Linked DNA regions of Homo sapiens: region 1 is linked to region 2. The links are contacts of gene promoters, found by promoter capture Hi-C in human tissues and cell types (Jung and others, 2019). All regions are on one chromosome and are shown on one strand. Each heading gives the region's core, a stretch centred on a gene start or on the middle of the fragment in contact. The rest is flanking DNA. Distances are from core to core; before and after follow the strand shown. Region 1 has its middle 14 kb from the start of DEFB116. Region 2 holds the start of HM13 (histocompatibility minor 13).

Region 1 (7,201 bases), core at 136-2,635, 190 kb before region 2:
TTGATTTATTAGGGTTTTTTTTGAGTCTGAAAGATTGGTGTTTTTCATCAGTTCACAAGTTCTCAGTCATGTTAACTGGTACTATTACTTCTGCTCCCATTTTCTCTCCTCTTTCCTTCTAGAATTCCAAATAAACATGTTTAGGACTTCTCACTATATTTTCTATGTCTCTTAACCTCCCTTTTATTTTTTTAATCTTTTTGTCTATCTGCACTAAATTCTGAATAATTTCTTCTGAATAATCTCTTAATTCACTAATTCTCTCTTCAGCTATGTCTAATGTAATGTTAAATCCAAGTTTTTATTTTCACGTTATTTCAAGTTATTTCTATTTATTTTTCAGATCTGCTTCCTTTTTTTTTTTTTTTGTGATGGGGTCTCACTCTGTCAGTCAGGCTGGAGTGCAGTGGCATGATCTCAGCTCACTGCAACCTCCACCTCCCTGGCTCAAGCAATCCTCCCACCTCAGCCCCCTCAGTAGCTAAGACTATAGGTGTGCACCACCACATCCAGCTAATTTTTTGTATTTTGGTAGAGACAGGGTTTCATCATCTTGCCCCAGGTGGTCACAAACTCCTGAGCTCAGGCAACCCACCCGCCTCGACCTCCTAAAGTGCTGCGATTACAGGCATGAGCCACTGCACTTGGCCAAGATCTGCTTGCTTTTTATTTATAATTTCAAGTCTTGATTTTTTCTTGAAACATATTAAAGATGATTATTTTTTCTTTTTTTTTTTTTTTTTTGAGATGGAGTCTTGCTTTGTCACCCAGGCTGGAATGCTTTGTCACCCAGGCTGGCCCAATCTCATCTCACTGCAACCTCTGGCTTCTGGGTTCAAGCGATTCTCCTGCCTCAGCCTCCCGAGTGGATGGGATCACGGGGACATGCCACCACGCCTGGCTAATTTTTTTTTTTTAGCAGAGAGGGGGTTTCACCATGTTGGCCAGGCTAGTCTTGAACTCCCAGTCTCAGGTGATCTGCCCACCTTGCCCTCCCAAAGTGTGGGATTACAGACGTGAGCCAATGTGCCCAGCCATAAAGATAATTACTTTCTATTCTGTGACTGACAACTTCAATATCTGAATTGTTCCAGGTTTGAGTTTACTATTTATTCTTTCTGCTGCTTCTCATTCATAATGCTTTATTTTCTTGAGAGTTTTGTGATTTTTGTCTGCGAACTGATCATTTTCTTTAAACTTTTTTAAAGAGGTCTAGGATTAAGATGAGTTCTTCAGAGAATATTTATGTTTACTTCTGTCAGGCAACTAAGGGCATTACCAGTCTGGGCCTGTGTAAATTAGATTCTCAGCTTTAGATTTTTCATATCATCAGAGTGCCATGATTCAGGCTATATACTAAGTGAGGGCCTGCTTGGGATTACAAAATCTCAGAGGAGACTCCCTTGCACACACACACCCAATCTTCTCATTAACTAAATTAAAAACAGTTCATTTTCCTTGCAATCCAACTGGGGAGTAGGGATTGTTTCCAGCTCACTGTTATTGTAAAGACGCAATTCTTTGAAGTCCCATATTGATGCAGGAGTCTCTTATTAGGTTTTTTACCACTGGTACTCTGGATAGTAATTTCCATTTCTCAGTTCCATAAGGCCATGAAAAGCATAACTCAAGTTCATATGGTTCAGGAAATACCCTCAAGGTGGAAACTGTTTCAGTGTTTCTTTTCCTAAAAGGACTCCCTTCTCAATTCAATTTCTTGGTTCCATATTATTTAATTTTTGCAAGCTTATGAAATCATTTAAGAAAATATGAAAAATATCCATTTTAGAGATGTTTTCAGCAGAAAAGTACTCACTCTGCCATGGAGTTCAAGGCAAATGCTTAAGCCCAATGTTAAGCTTTGTTGCTCAGCATGGCTACTAGGGAAAGAAGATTCTTTCTGCCTATTCTTGAAATTTGGTTGCTATTTGACCAGTATCTTCTCTTTTGCTTTTTCTAAACAAGTCTAAATATGTCTGAACCTCAAGGTTATGTGCAACTTGAGTTTTTTTCAAACTTAGGTTTCTTTATCCTCTTATAAATTAGACAGTGTCACTTTATAATCTCCTTCAGGTAAGTACTTTACTGCCCATAAGATTATCTCATGCCCCACCAGAGAAATCTTTGAACTAAAGAAGTAATAAAATATTTTCCCAGTGTTGGACTTACCTTTTAATTTGTGTATGGTACATTTTGCCATAGAGAAGTAATTAAATTTAAGTAGTTAATTCTTCATAGCTGTTTTCTGGTTTTGTGCTTACAAATTTCCAGCAAAGTCTCTCTAAATAGTAAGTAATAAAGCCAACATTCATATCCCAAACCCTCAACTATATCCATTGTACCACACCATCTCTACATATAGTGAAACAGCTGGAGAAGGCTGACTCCTTTCTAGATAATGCCAGTTGCAGCTGCGATATCCATTGTTCTATAGGTTTTTGTGGGGGGTTTTTTTTGTGTGTTTTTTTTTTCCTTTCTAATATACCAGAGGTGCATACCATTATCTTGGTCCATACAAAATTTTTGGCATCTTTATAGCCCTCTTTAATGTTTATTTATTGTAATGTTTTTATTCATTTATTTTAAAAATAACGAGTCCTTCACAAATACAAGAGCTAAAATAGCATCAATAACTTAAATTTAAATACTCCTGTATTCCTCTAAAATCCCACACATCCTGCCTTTCCTTATCCACTCCCCAAGAATTTAACATATTTATTTGTATTTCTAAGTAGCATAATGGTAATTTTTATTGTTTAAAGTTTAATTTTGGGGAGAAAAATAAAACTGGGAAAAAAATAGTTTTATTTTTAAAAGAGGTAACAAAGTCTTCTTTGGTATGCATAGTCTTCTAAGATTTGTCTTTTACAATCCATAATATATTATTATTATTAAAATTCAACTATTGTGTGTAGCTGAATTTTACTTCTTTTCCCTGATATGTAGCTCATTCTTTGAATATATCACAATTTATTTATCTATTTGCCTGTCAAAGAACATTTATGTTCCTTACAGTTTGTAGCTTACCTTTTTACTTTCTTTTGGGTATCTTTTGATGGACAGAAATTCTTATATTTTTACATACTCAAACTTATCAATGTTTTCAATATAATTTTCAATACAGTGCTCACATGAAGACTCAGGTTATATATACATAAAATTTCAAGTGCACCCGTTTTCATAAAAGAAATGGAGTAAGTGAATTCCTCCACAGCTGTCACCATAAGTTCTCAGCATTTTAGTCTATTGAAATTCCTCCACAGTGATGCTCCCCTTGACAATACATTTATTTATTAGCACTCATTTCATGCTTATCCTTCTATGAAGGGCCAGGTATAATAAATTCTTCAGTACCTAAATAAACTAAAAATAATTCCAATATATAAACAATGCTCAAAGTCATCCCTTGTTTATAAGTATTTGAATAAACTAAAAATTATTTCTTCTATTTTCTTTGGATCAGGATGGCAGCAAAAAAAGGATATTTTTTTTCTTCGCTGAAGTTTTGGAAAGAAGGAATGCCTTTGTGTCAGGCTAGTATATGGCCTCCCACAGAAACCCAAAACAGTAGCTACATCTGCTGGCCTCCTGGTAGATCCCAGAAAACTACCAAAAACTTTTACAGTCCTTGCTGCATTTGAATCACAGTGCCCCTGTATGTCCCCTCCCACATCCAAACAGACAGGGGACTCCTCCCTGCTGCCTGGCATGCCTTCTCAGCAGGCCTCACATAGATAGGGAGAATAAGTGCTGCAGGGAGCCCTCCTCAGAATGAAACTCAAACCTGATCTAATTCCGCCCCAGTCTGAAGGGATTGCCCTCTCCCAATCGCCCTGAATAGGAAGACCACTACGAAATACTCAAAACTCTCTCAGAATCCACCAGAGCAATGGGCAAAATGCTGACACAGAGAGAGGTGCAGGAAGGTAGTCTCTCTCTCTCTCTCACTCTTTCCATCCGGACAGAGACACACGGCTGCATCACCCAAAGCAAATGTCAGTACCTTTTTTAAGTTCCTTATTACCACGGTTTTTTGGGTAATACTTTGTATCGCCATCAGACTTTGTATCGCCAACATCAATTTATTTTCACTTCTAATATTTCCTCATTGCTCAGTCTGATAGTCAGAAGAAATCTTCTTTTGAATTTCACCATTGTGTGTGACCCACTGAATGCCTGTGTGAAGGTCACTTTCCTTTCTGAGGCTCAGTTTCCCCATCTTCGTCTTCTTCACAAAACAATCTACAGGGTATAACAGTGTTGGTGGGATATTTTTTAAAAAGAAAACAAAAACACTGGCAGTGATTAGTTCCCATATGTAGAGAGAATTGAGGAGCAGCGCAAGAAAAAAGAGAGTCTGGATGAGGGAGACGAGAAGGACAGAAAGATGATTGTGTTGACTTTGAAATAGTGGAGGGATGTGAGAAACTACTCTCAGGGTATTCTTGTGGAAATGCTCAGCTTCAAGAGGTGCCCTCTCTGATCATACCAGCCTTTTTCTTCCTCTAGCCAACTTCCAAATTCTAACATTTGAACCATTCAGTGCCTATGAAGTTCTCACCCAAGGAATTTGGGAAGTTATGGAGAAAGGCCTCTGGATATTTTCATTTGGAGGAGGGAACAGAATAAATTTTAATAGACCCCGATCTACCTGATTACGTGGCTCCATTTAAGCCTAACACAGATTCAAGTTCCACACAACTACAGACCAATCCCAAGTTCTGATCACTCACACTTTTGTTCAAATTGAGCCTAAACTCTGTTTCCATCTTAACTCCAAACTCCAACCCTACTCTACCCAAGGTCTATCCATGTTTAACCCCAAGACAACCACAACCTAACTTTACTACCACTAGCTCCAGTTCAGCCCATCACCCTGCCTAATCCCTATATCCAGATTCATTTGGCCATAAATTTCACCCCCTCTCCAGACTACCTCATACCAATCCTAATTCCCCCAATACAACTCCTCACCTAGTATTTATCCCGAACCATCTTCCAAATATCTCCCTAACTGCAAGCTCCTCTTCCCACTGTTCAACAAAATTCATCCCTGGTGTCCAATATCTCTCAGAGATCCCTACCCCTCCTCAACTGGGACTCAATCTCTTGCCCTTAACCCTTCATCTAATTGCATATTGTATGAGTCACAGTTTTATCAGTTATCTTAACAGGGATTATTTAACATTTAAGTGTAATATTAGTGTTCATATTAATAAATTTAATATTAACTTTAATATAAAGATTTGTTATATAGGCATTTAAGAATTGAAAAAAATAAAGAGGACACTCAGCTATCACAGATGTAGCAACTGCAGGAATCAGCTACCAATTCCAGGGTGGGAATAACAAGAAAAAAGGTTGGAACCATTAAAAATAAATTAGAAGCTTGGAGGAAGATACCTGCTGAGCTGAATTTCAGATCTCTGAGGAAGGAGCTCTGCTCAGCTAGAACTAGTATCTATGAGGCATCATGAGGCTGGCTGTGTTGGAAAATTGCAAATTGGATTCAACTGTGCTAGAGGAATGCCCTCCCAGTGTTGGGGTGAAGAAGCAAGAATGAGTGATGCTGTTGGCAACAGGAAATAAATAGGAAGCCCTTAGGAAGTAAATAGGAAAGAGTTCTTCCCCCTCCAACTTTGAAATGTGCTCCTGGCACCGCCTATTGGCAGAGCTTAAGGAAACATTCTGCAAAGGAGAACCCCTGTTTGTAGTGTGCTAGCCTCAGCATTGCAAAGTAGAGCATAGACGGTTGGATGTGAAGCTGACAGACAACAGGCAATAGCATATTAAGTGACAAACATATCAGCGCCAGCCTTGACTGACACATGCCCAAGTCTTCCACCCTTCCACCACTGCAAAAGCAGCAACCTCTTAAATCCACCTTGGCAGAAAGCCACAAAGAGATGCTAACATGAAATGGACATGGGGATAACTTCATCAAGCTGCCTGAAACCAGGCTTCAGTTGCTGGCCACCCTACACAAGACCAGAATCCTAAAAAAAGACCAGAACTCCAGCACACTTGAGAGAGTCCTATATTATTTGAATTCCATGAAGCAGATTGACAAAGATCAGGATATGAAACTCTGTGGCTGCAGGGTCCCAGGAGAAGTAGGTGACTGATTTATGAAGGATGCAAAATAATTTTTGCAGCAAGTCTGAACTCTGACTATATTAGCTCCTGAAGCATGGTGGGGTATTGGTCAGCAAAATATAGAGAGAGGCAATTTATCTGAAGTCAACATAACAGAGATACAACATTTAATATATATTCCATCTAGACATTGGAATGGGAAAGTGAGATACTGGCCAGCATCCATAACAAAAGTGGGCTTTCTCTCCTGGTAAAAGAAAATCATTTGTCCTTTCAGAAAATGAGTAACAAAATAGCTAAAGCCCTCGCCTATTAATAATTACTTTAAAGTAAATGAATTAAACTTCCCAATCAAAAAGGGAGAGTATATGAATGGGTTAAAAAAAAAAAAGAGTCAATGATATGCTGTCTACAAGAGACTCACTTTAGATTTGTGGGCACACATAGACTGAAAATGAAGGGATGGAAAAAAAAAATACTCCATGTAAAAGGTAACCAAAAGAAAGCAAGGGTGCAAGGATGGCTATACTTATATCAGACAAAATAGACTTAAAGTCAAAACTATCTCTAGGGACAAAGAAAGTCATTATAATGATAAAAGGGTCTCTAGGGACAAAGAGAGTCATTTATAATGATAAAAGGGTTAATTCAATAGAATGATATAACATTTATAAATATAAACCTACCCAACACCAGAGCACATAATTATATAAACCAAATGTAGACAGATCTGAAGGGAGAAACTGGCAACAATACAATAATAGTAGGAGACTTCAATACCCCACTTTCAAAAATGGATGGAATATACAGACAGAAAAAATCAATAAACAGCTGACTTGAACAATATTATAGACCAAACGGACCTAACAGACATAGAACTTTCTATTCAATAGCAGAGGACTACACATTCTTCTCAAGTACACCTGAAACATTCTCCAGAATAAATCACATGCTAGGTCACAAAACAAGTCTTCAGAAATTTAAGAAGATTGAAATCATATCAACCATCTCTTAAAAAAAATAGGTGGCCGGGCGCGGTGGCTCACGCCTGTAATCCCAGCACTTTGGGAGGCCGAGACGGGCGGATCACGAGGTCAGGAGATCG
Region 2 (7,096 bases), core at 2,936-5,435:
GCTGAGGCAGGAAAATTGCTTGAGCCCGGGACACAGAGGTTGCAGTGAGCCAAGATCACACTACTGCACTCCAGCCTGGGTGACAGAACAAAACGCCATCTCAAAAAAAAAGATAAGATCCACATCTAATTTTATTGACACAGAAAATGTCAAGAACCCCAAATTTGGTTGGTTTGAAGAACATGTGAAGGGTTTGACTAGATGATGAATGTCAATATTAAATCAGCTGAAGTTTCATATACAAAATGAAGAGGAACAGCATTCAAACTTAGTTAAGACACAATTTCCTTGAGTGGCCAGGCATGGTAGTCATGCCTGTAATCCCAGCACTTTGGGAGGCCAAGGTGAGCAGATCGCTTGAGCCCAGGAATTCAAGACCAGCCTGGGCAACATGGTGAAACCCCATCTCTATAAAAAATGGAAAAATTAGCTGGGCATGGTGGTATATGCCTATAGTCCCAGCTACTCGGGAGGCTGAAGTGGGAGGGTCGCTTGAGCCCAGGAGGTCAAGGCTGCAGTGAGCTGTGATCATGCCATTGTGTTCCAGCCTGGGTGACAGAGTGAAAATGTGCCTTGAAATAAAATTTTCCTTTGAATACGGCTTAAGAAATATGGCCACTTAAAACTCTACCTTGAAAATAAATATAGATTTTATCTTATCTAGAGGTAGAGTGGGAAGTTTTCATTTGGTACATTAAATCTATAAGGCCATAAACAGGTAATATAAAAAGCTTTCATAATTCAATTTATATATAACATGAGAAGGAACTTCCAGGTGTTACTATGAATCTTCTATGTATAGTTACAGTCAATATACTTTATATAAGAGATAATTTTAATACCAATATAATCTAGATAACATTTTACTTTGTTATGTTATCATTGTTCTCTTGGGGAATAAATTTTTTCCTCTGAGGCTCTGGATTTGACATTGAATTTTGTGTGTACTAATTGACATGTGCCAGGGCAATGATGGACTGGAATCCACCCCCAAATCAAAGCATCATGGTAAATCTTGCTTATCCTTATAAAGTCAAATGATAGACATTTCCCATCACCTATTTCTATTCAACAAGAGCACCAGATTCAGTTAGCTAATCTGCTTCCAAAGAGTAGAACTGCATTGAGCTCAAATAATTTCAAAATACTGACTTTTTTTTATTTATTTATTTATTTTTTAGATGTGGTCTTGCTATGTTGCCCGGGCTGGTCTCTAACTCCTGGGCTCACACGATCCACCCACCTCGGCCTCCCAGCATGCTGGGATTACAGGCGTGAACCACCATACCCAGCCTATTTCTGCGTATGTTAAACATGCTTTACAATTTTAAAAATGAACTGTTTTGAAGGTAAAATTACAAATCTTGAAATTAAAAAAGCAAATATGTAAAGGAGCAAAAACTATAAATCAAACATTTGAGAAGAGAAAATTGGAGGCTAACTTGTATTAAATTCACAAAAACTTCTATACTTTCTGTAAATACTTTTTTAAAAAACTATAGATCAGAGGCTAGGCGCAGTGGTTCACGCCTGTAATCCTAGCACTTTGGGAGGCCGAGGCGAGTGGATCACTGAGGTCAGGCGTTCGAGACCAGCCTGACCAACATGGAGAAACCCCATCTCTACTGAAAATACAAAATTAACTGGGCGTGGTGACGCATGCCTGTAATCCCAGCTACTCGGGAGGCTGAGGCAGGAGAATCGCTTGAACCAGGGAGGCAGAGGTTGTGGTGAGCCGAGATTGCGCCATTGCACTCCAGCCTGAGCAAAAAGAGCAAAACTCAGTCTCACAACAAACAAAAAAACTATAGATCAGAATAACCACCTTTAGAACACTTTCGGTTATCAGTCAATATTTTTAGATAGAAGCTGGTAGTAAGCCTAAAGTGGGCTTAATTCTGCAGTAAACAACTGCCTCAACACATAGAAATCTTTTTTAAAATAGGCACTCTTGGCCGGGCGCGGTGGCTCATGCCTGTAATCCCAGCACTTTGGGAGGCCGAGGCGGGCGGATCACGAGGTCAGGAGATCGAGACCATCCTGGCTAACACGGTGAAACCCTGACTCTACTAAAAATACCAAAAATTAGCCGAGCGTGGTGGCGGGTGCGTGTAGTCCTAGCTACTCGGGAGGCTGAGGCAGGAGAATGGCGTGAACCCGGAAGCTGGAGGTTGCAGTGAGCCGAAATCGTGCCACTGCACTCCAGCCTGGGTGACATAGCAAGACTCCATCTCAAAAAAAAAAATAAAAAATAAATAAAATAAAATAAAATAGGCACTCTTGCGGGAGGTGGCAGCTCATGCCTATAATTGCAGAACTTTGGGAGGCCGAAGTGGGCAGATTGCTTGAGCCCAGGAGTTTGAGACCAGCCTGGGCAACATGCCGAAACCCCATCTCTACTAAAAACACAAAAAGTTAGCCGGGCGTGGTGGCACACACCTGTGGTCCCAGCTACTGGGGAGGCTGAGGTGGGAGAATCACCCAAGCCCAGAAGGTAGAGGCTGCAGTGAGCTGTGATCATGCCACTGCACTCCAGCCTGGGTGACAGAGTGAGACCCTGTCTCAAAATAATAATAATAATAATAATAATAATAGGCCCTCCTTGAAGTTTTTTGTTTGCACAGTCACACAGTGATGCTTAGATGTTCCAGTATCTAATATAGCCACAGTAGGCTGCAAGCAGTGGCTCATACCTGTAATCCCAACACTTTAGGAGGCTGAGGCAGGAGGATCACTTGAACCTAGGAGTTTGAGACCAGCCTGGCCAACATGGCAAAACCCCATGTCTAAGAAAATATATATTTTTAACTTTTTTAACAATATCAAAAATAAGAATCACATAAATAAACAGATTCTTCAAATTCTGAAAAGAGCCACAAAGCTTTATAAATTGTACAGGGGCATGAACTCGTAAGGTATTATAATTGCCTGGCACATAGTAGGCTCTCAATACATTTGCAAACTCCACACACACCTTACTTTCTTTTGCTTTATTTTTCTCTATTTATCTGCATTAACATGCTATGTAACACATAACTATACATTAACGTTTTACAAATTACAAATTTTTCTTGTTTTTTTTTTTTTTTTTTTTGAGACAGAGTCTCACTCTGTCGCCCAGGCTGGAGTGCAGTGGGCTCACTGCAACCTCCGCCTCCCAGGTTCAAGCCAGTCTCCTGCCTCAGCCTCCCAAGTAGCTGGGATTGTAGGCGCCCGCCACCACGCCCGGCTAATTTTTTATATTTTTAGTACAGACGGGGTTTCACCGTGTTAGCCAGGATGGTCTCGATCTCCTGACCTCGCAATCTGCCCACCTCGGCCTCCCAAAGTGCTGGGATTACAGGCGTGAGCCACCGCGCCTGGCCTTTTTTTTTTTTTTTTTTTTTTTTTTTTTCAGACGGAGTTTCGCTCTTGTTGCCCAGGCTGGAGTGCAATGGCTCAGTCTTGGCTCACTGCAACCTCCGCCTCCCGGGTTCAGGCGATTCTCCTGCCTCAGCCTCCCGAGTAGCTGGGATTACAGGTGCGTGCCACCACGCCCGGCTAATTGTTTGTATTTTTAGTGCAGACGGGGTTTCACCATATTGGTCAGGCTGGTCTCGAACTCGTGACGTCAGGTGATCCACCCGCCTCGGCCTCCTAGAGTGCTGGGATTACAGGCGTGAGCCACTGCGCCCAGCCCATTTTACAGACTTTTATTTTGTTCAGTTTCTTTATTGTCTTCCCAACGTCCCCCCACACACACTGCACTAAAATGCAAACTTCACGAAGGCAAGGAGGAACTTTTGCCTGTATTGTTCACCTCAGTGTCCCCAGAGCCTAGGTCAGTTGTTGGCATATTGAGGGACATTCAATAAATATTTAAGGAGTGAATAAACAATTGGATACCCAATAAATGCATGTATGAATAAACACATTCTTAGTTATTCGGAATATGAGGATTTGCGGAGAGTGGACAGCAGGGGATTGAGGAGACCGGCTGGGACTGGGAAATGGGCATTCGGGTCGCATGCCCACCGCAGTGGCCCAGAGCCCCTGTCCGGACCGCTAACAAGTTGCTTAGCAACCCGCCGCCCGGCCCTCGGCCACCGCTAGAGGGCGAGCGGGCGGGGAGACGTGCACGCGCGCGCGCGTGCGTGCAAGCGTGTGTGCGCGCGTGCGCGGCGCGGGCTTGGGAGGGAGCACGTCACTTCCTGTTGCCTTAGGGGAACGTGGCTTTCCCTGCAGAGCCGGTGTCTCCGCCTGCGTCCCTGCTGCAGCAACCGGAGCTGGAGTCGGATCCCGAACGCACCCTCGCCATGGACTCGGCCCTCAGCGATCCGCATAACGGCAGTGCCGAGGCAGGCGGCCCCACCAACAGCACTACGCGGCCGCCTTCCACGCCCGAGGGCATCGCGCTGGCCTACGGCAGCCTCCTGCTCATGGCGCTGCTGCCCATCTTCTTCGGCGCCCTGCGCTCCGTACGCTGCGCCCGCGGCAAGGTAGGGTCAGCGGGAAAACCGGGCACTTTCCACCCCCATACCGAACACGGCCGACATGGACCCTTCCTAGGCGGGACAGACACCTCTCCCCGGACACTGACTCTTCCCAGCCCTGATCACCACCGTTCCCTCTGTCTCGGGCCCACATTCCGGGGCTGGCATTTCCTACCCCGGGATCTGGGCACCGACCCCCGACCAGGGTATGATACCTTCCCCAATAGGAACTTGCTTCTGCTCCCGACCCGGACCCTGACACTTCCCTCCCTGTGCATCATGCCGCGGCTGGGAACGCTGTCAGCCCGTCCCCCACTGCGACTCGGGCACTGATTGTTCTGAGCCTGTTGGGCCCAGGCAGATCAGCCCCATCATGTATACCTGATGGATACTGGTCCTCACAACTTACTGAATGGTACAATTTCGTGTCATTCCCTGTTAGGAACCCTGCCTCAGCCCACCGCAGGGCCCTTTCTACCATCCAGACCCATCCCTAGACTCTGACTCCTGTCTCACTGGAATCTATGGCACCTTATGTGCTCACCTAGATCCCCCACACCTGGCCCTTGCCCCTGCCTCAAAAACAATGATCTCTTAGAGCCCAGTTTTTCACATCACTTTCTGGAACCATCCCAGTCAGCTGGCTCCTCAGAAGCTGGCATCTTGGTGCCTCTACTTTCCAACTAGGCATGGACGTCTTATTTTCCTGGTTTCCTCTCTTAACTACCATCCAACCTTGGACATGGCCTAGTCAAAACCTAGACCTTGTTCCTAACCTGTAACCCTTTTCCCACCCAGCCTTTGACCCTATCTCAAAGTAGCCCTTCTCCCCATACCCCCAAGACAATCCCCCCACCAAACTGGGCCTGTCTGCTGGGCCACTGTTGGCCCCTCTTGTGAGACTGGGCCAGACTCCATCCCTGGCCTTCCTCAACATCTGTCCTATTGGATAACTAGGAGGACTCCAGCACATTTCACCTTCTGCTTCTCCCTCCCCCTTCCCTGCCCCACTTCTTCCCTATATTAAGCCCTTTCTAGCCCGTTGTACCAATGACTTTTCACTTCCTGGCACCCTCTCCCTTCCTCCACAACCTCTTAATCTGCACCTTCCCGATGCTCCTCCCCCACCCAGACCTGAGGATGGACCTAAGTGGAAGTCTTGCCCAAAGAGGGCAGGCCCACAAAGCAGCTGCCACTTTTGAAACTGCTGAAGCTGAGGTTCTCAAAACACTACCCAACTTGAGCAGTAGCTGAGGCCTGCCATCTTCCTTCCCCAGGAGCAGAGAACTCACTACTGGCTCTGTATGCGATCAGATGCAAAGGAAAGTAGTTAGGCGGGGCTTAGGCTGAGAGACTCAAACATGACTCCATTTTCCTTTTTATTTGGCTTTTTCTAAGCTGAGTTCAGGTGATATTAAGCCTCTCTACTATGCCTGTCAGGTAGACACTTAGTGTAGAGAGCAGTTCTGAGATAACCCAGGACAGAGGAGGCGAAGGACAGCTGGCATAAGGCTAGGCAGCTTGATCTGAGCTGCTCTCCAAACTGAGTAATTCTCCCTGGCACCTTCTGTACATGGATCACTAATCTCTGCAGAAAACACCTTCCAGGCAACAGTATTTCCTGAACTTCCACCACTGTCAGGGGTAAGGGAGGATTGCTGCAAAGATGAGTAGGTCAGAGCCCTGTCACCAAGGAATTCGGGAGCGTAGGTGAAAGAATAATAACTAGATTGTGATTATACTACAAGCAATGCTACAAGGTTTAGGGAGAAAGATTGAGCACATCTGGGACAATGCAGGGAGGCTTTGTGCTAGAGGTAGGCCTGAGCCTTGACGTAGAGGTAGAATTTCAGCCAGGAGAAGGCATTCTAAGCAAAAGAAACCAGGTAAGCAGAGAGAGGTACGGAGGCAGGAGGCTACGAGGCAGTTCAGGAAATAGTGGAAGGTTTGGTGTGGCTGGAACAGAGGGTATGGATAGGAGAAAGCCTTAGCCTCTGAATACCTCTCCCAAGCATCTCCTGCAGGGCAGCAGGGTGTGGAGGACTGTATGAATTTACAAACAGGACCTGACCATTAAGAGCCTGCCACCACCAATGACCCAGATGCGGTAAAGCTTGCAAAACCTTGACGCCCTTTGATGCTCACAGCAACTGAGGTGGCAGGCAGAGCCAGTTTCATTATCCTCATTGTACAGGAAAAGAAACTGAGAGTCAAAGAAATGACTTCTGAAGATCACTCTGCCATTTAGGGGCAGAATCAGGTATGCCTAGTCCTCATCCAGGGCTCTCTCCTAACACAGGTACCTTTAAAGACAAGCAGCATTGACCTAGGGAAAGGACAGGGCAAATGACTCCCCTTCTACCCTGAGTCGTTTCCCTGGTCATGTGAAAAGGAGAGAGAAGAGTTAGTGTGGGGACCCAGTTTTGATTTCCCACCAGTGTTGGACCCCAAAACCAGTTGGGAGAGAGGGAATGTGAGGACAGAATCCCCAAGGGTCAAGGTGTCCATAACAGGCAGGGAAAATTGTGAAATCATGGAGAGAAAGAAGGTAGAGCCTCCAGGAGTATGTTGTGAAGAAGTAGCCTTGGGAGGAGCAGTCTCAGAGCAGCACCCATCACTGTCAG

What was found. Contacts are between HindIII fragments. The study calls those that stand out against the background at their distance.
Region 1: a fragment that was not itself captured here is called in contact with the fragment with the promoter of HM13 in region 2 in 1 of the 25 tissues and cell types used here (mesendoderm cells).

The regions. Positions count from the first base shown.
Region 1 is chr20:31,318,996-31,326,196 of GRCh38, forward strand. No RefSeq gene overlaps it. Among named protein-coding and RNA genes, the nearest start is that of DEFB116, 14 kb to the left of the region's middle. The HindIII fragment of the contact is 4,475 bases long and covers 1-3,623 here.
Region 2 is chr20:31,510,257-31,517,352 of GRCh38, forward strand. HM13 (histocompatibility minor 13) reads left to right here and starts at 4,186. Exons shown (of 13, transcript NM_178581.3): 1 at 4,186-4,478. The coding sequence starts at 4,296. It also overlaps the pseudogene CD24P3. RefSeq lists a silencer at 4,783-4,852. The HindIII fragment of the contact is 9,221 bases long and covers 1,807-7,096 here.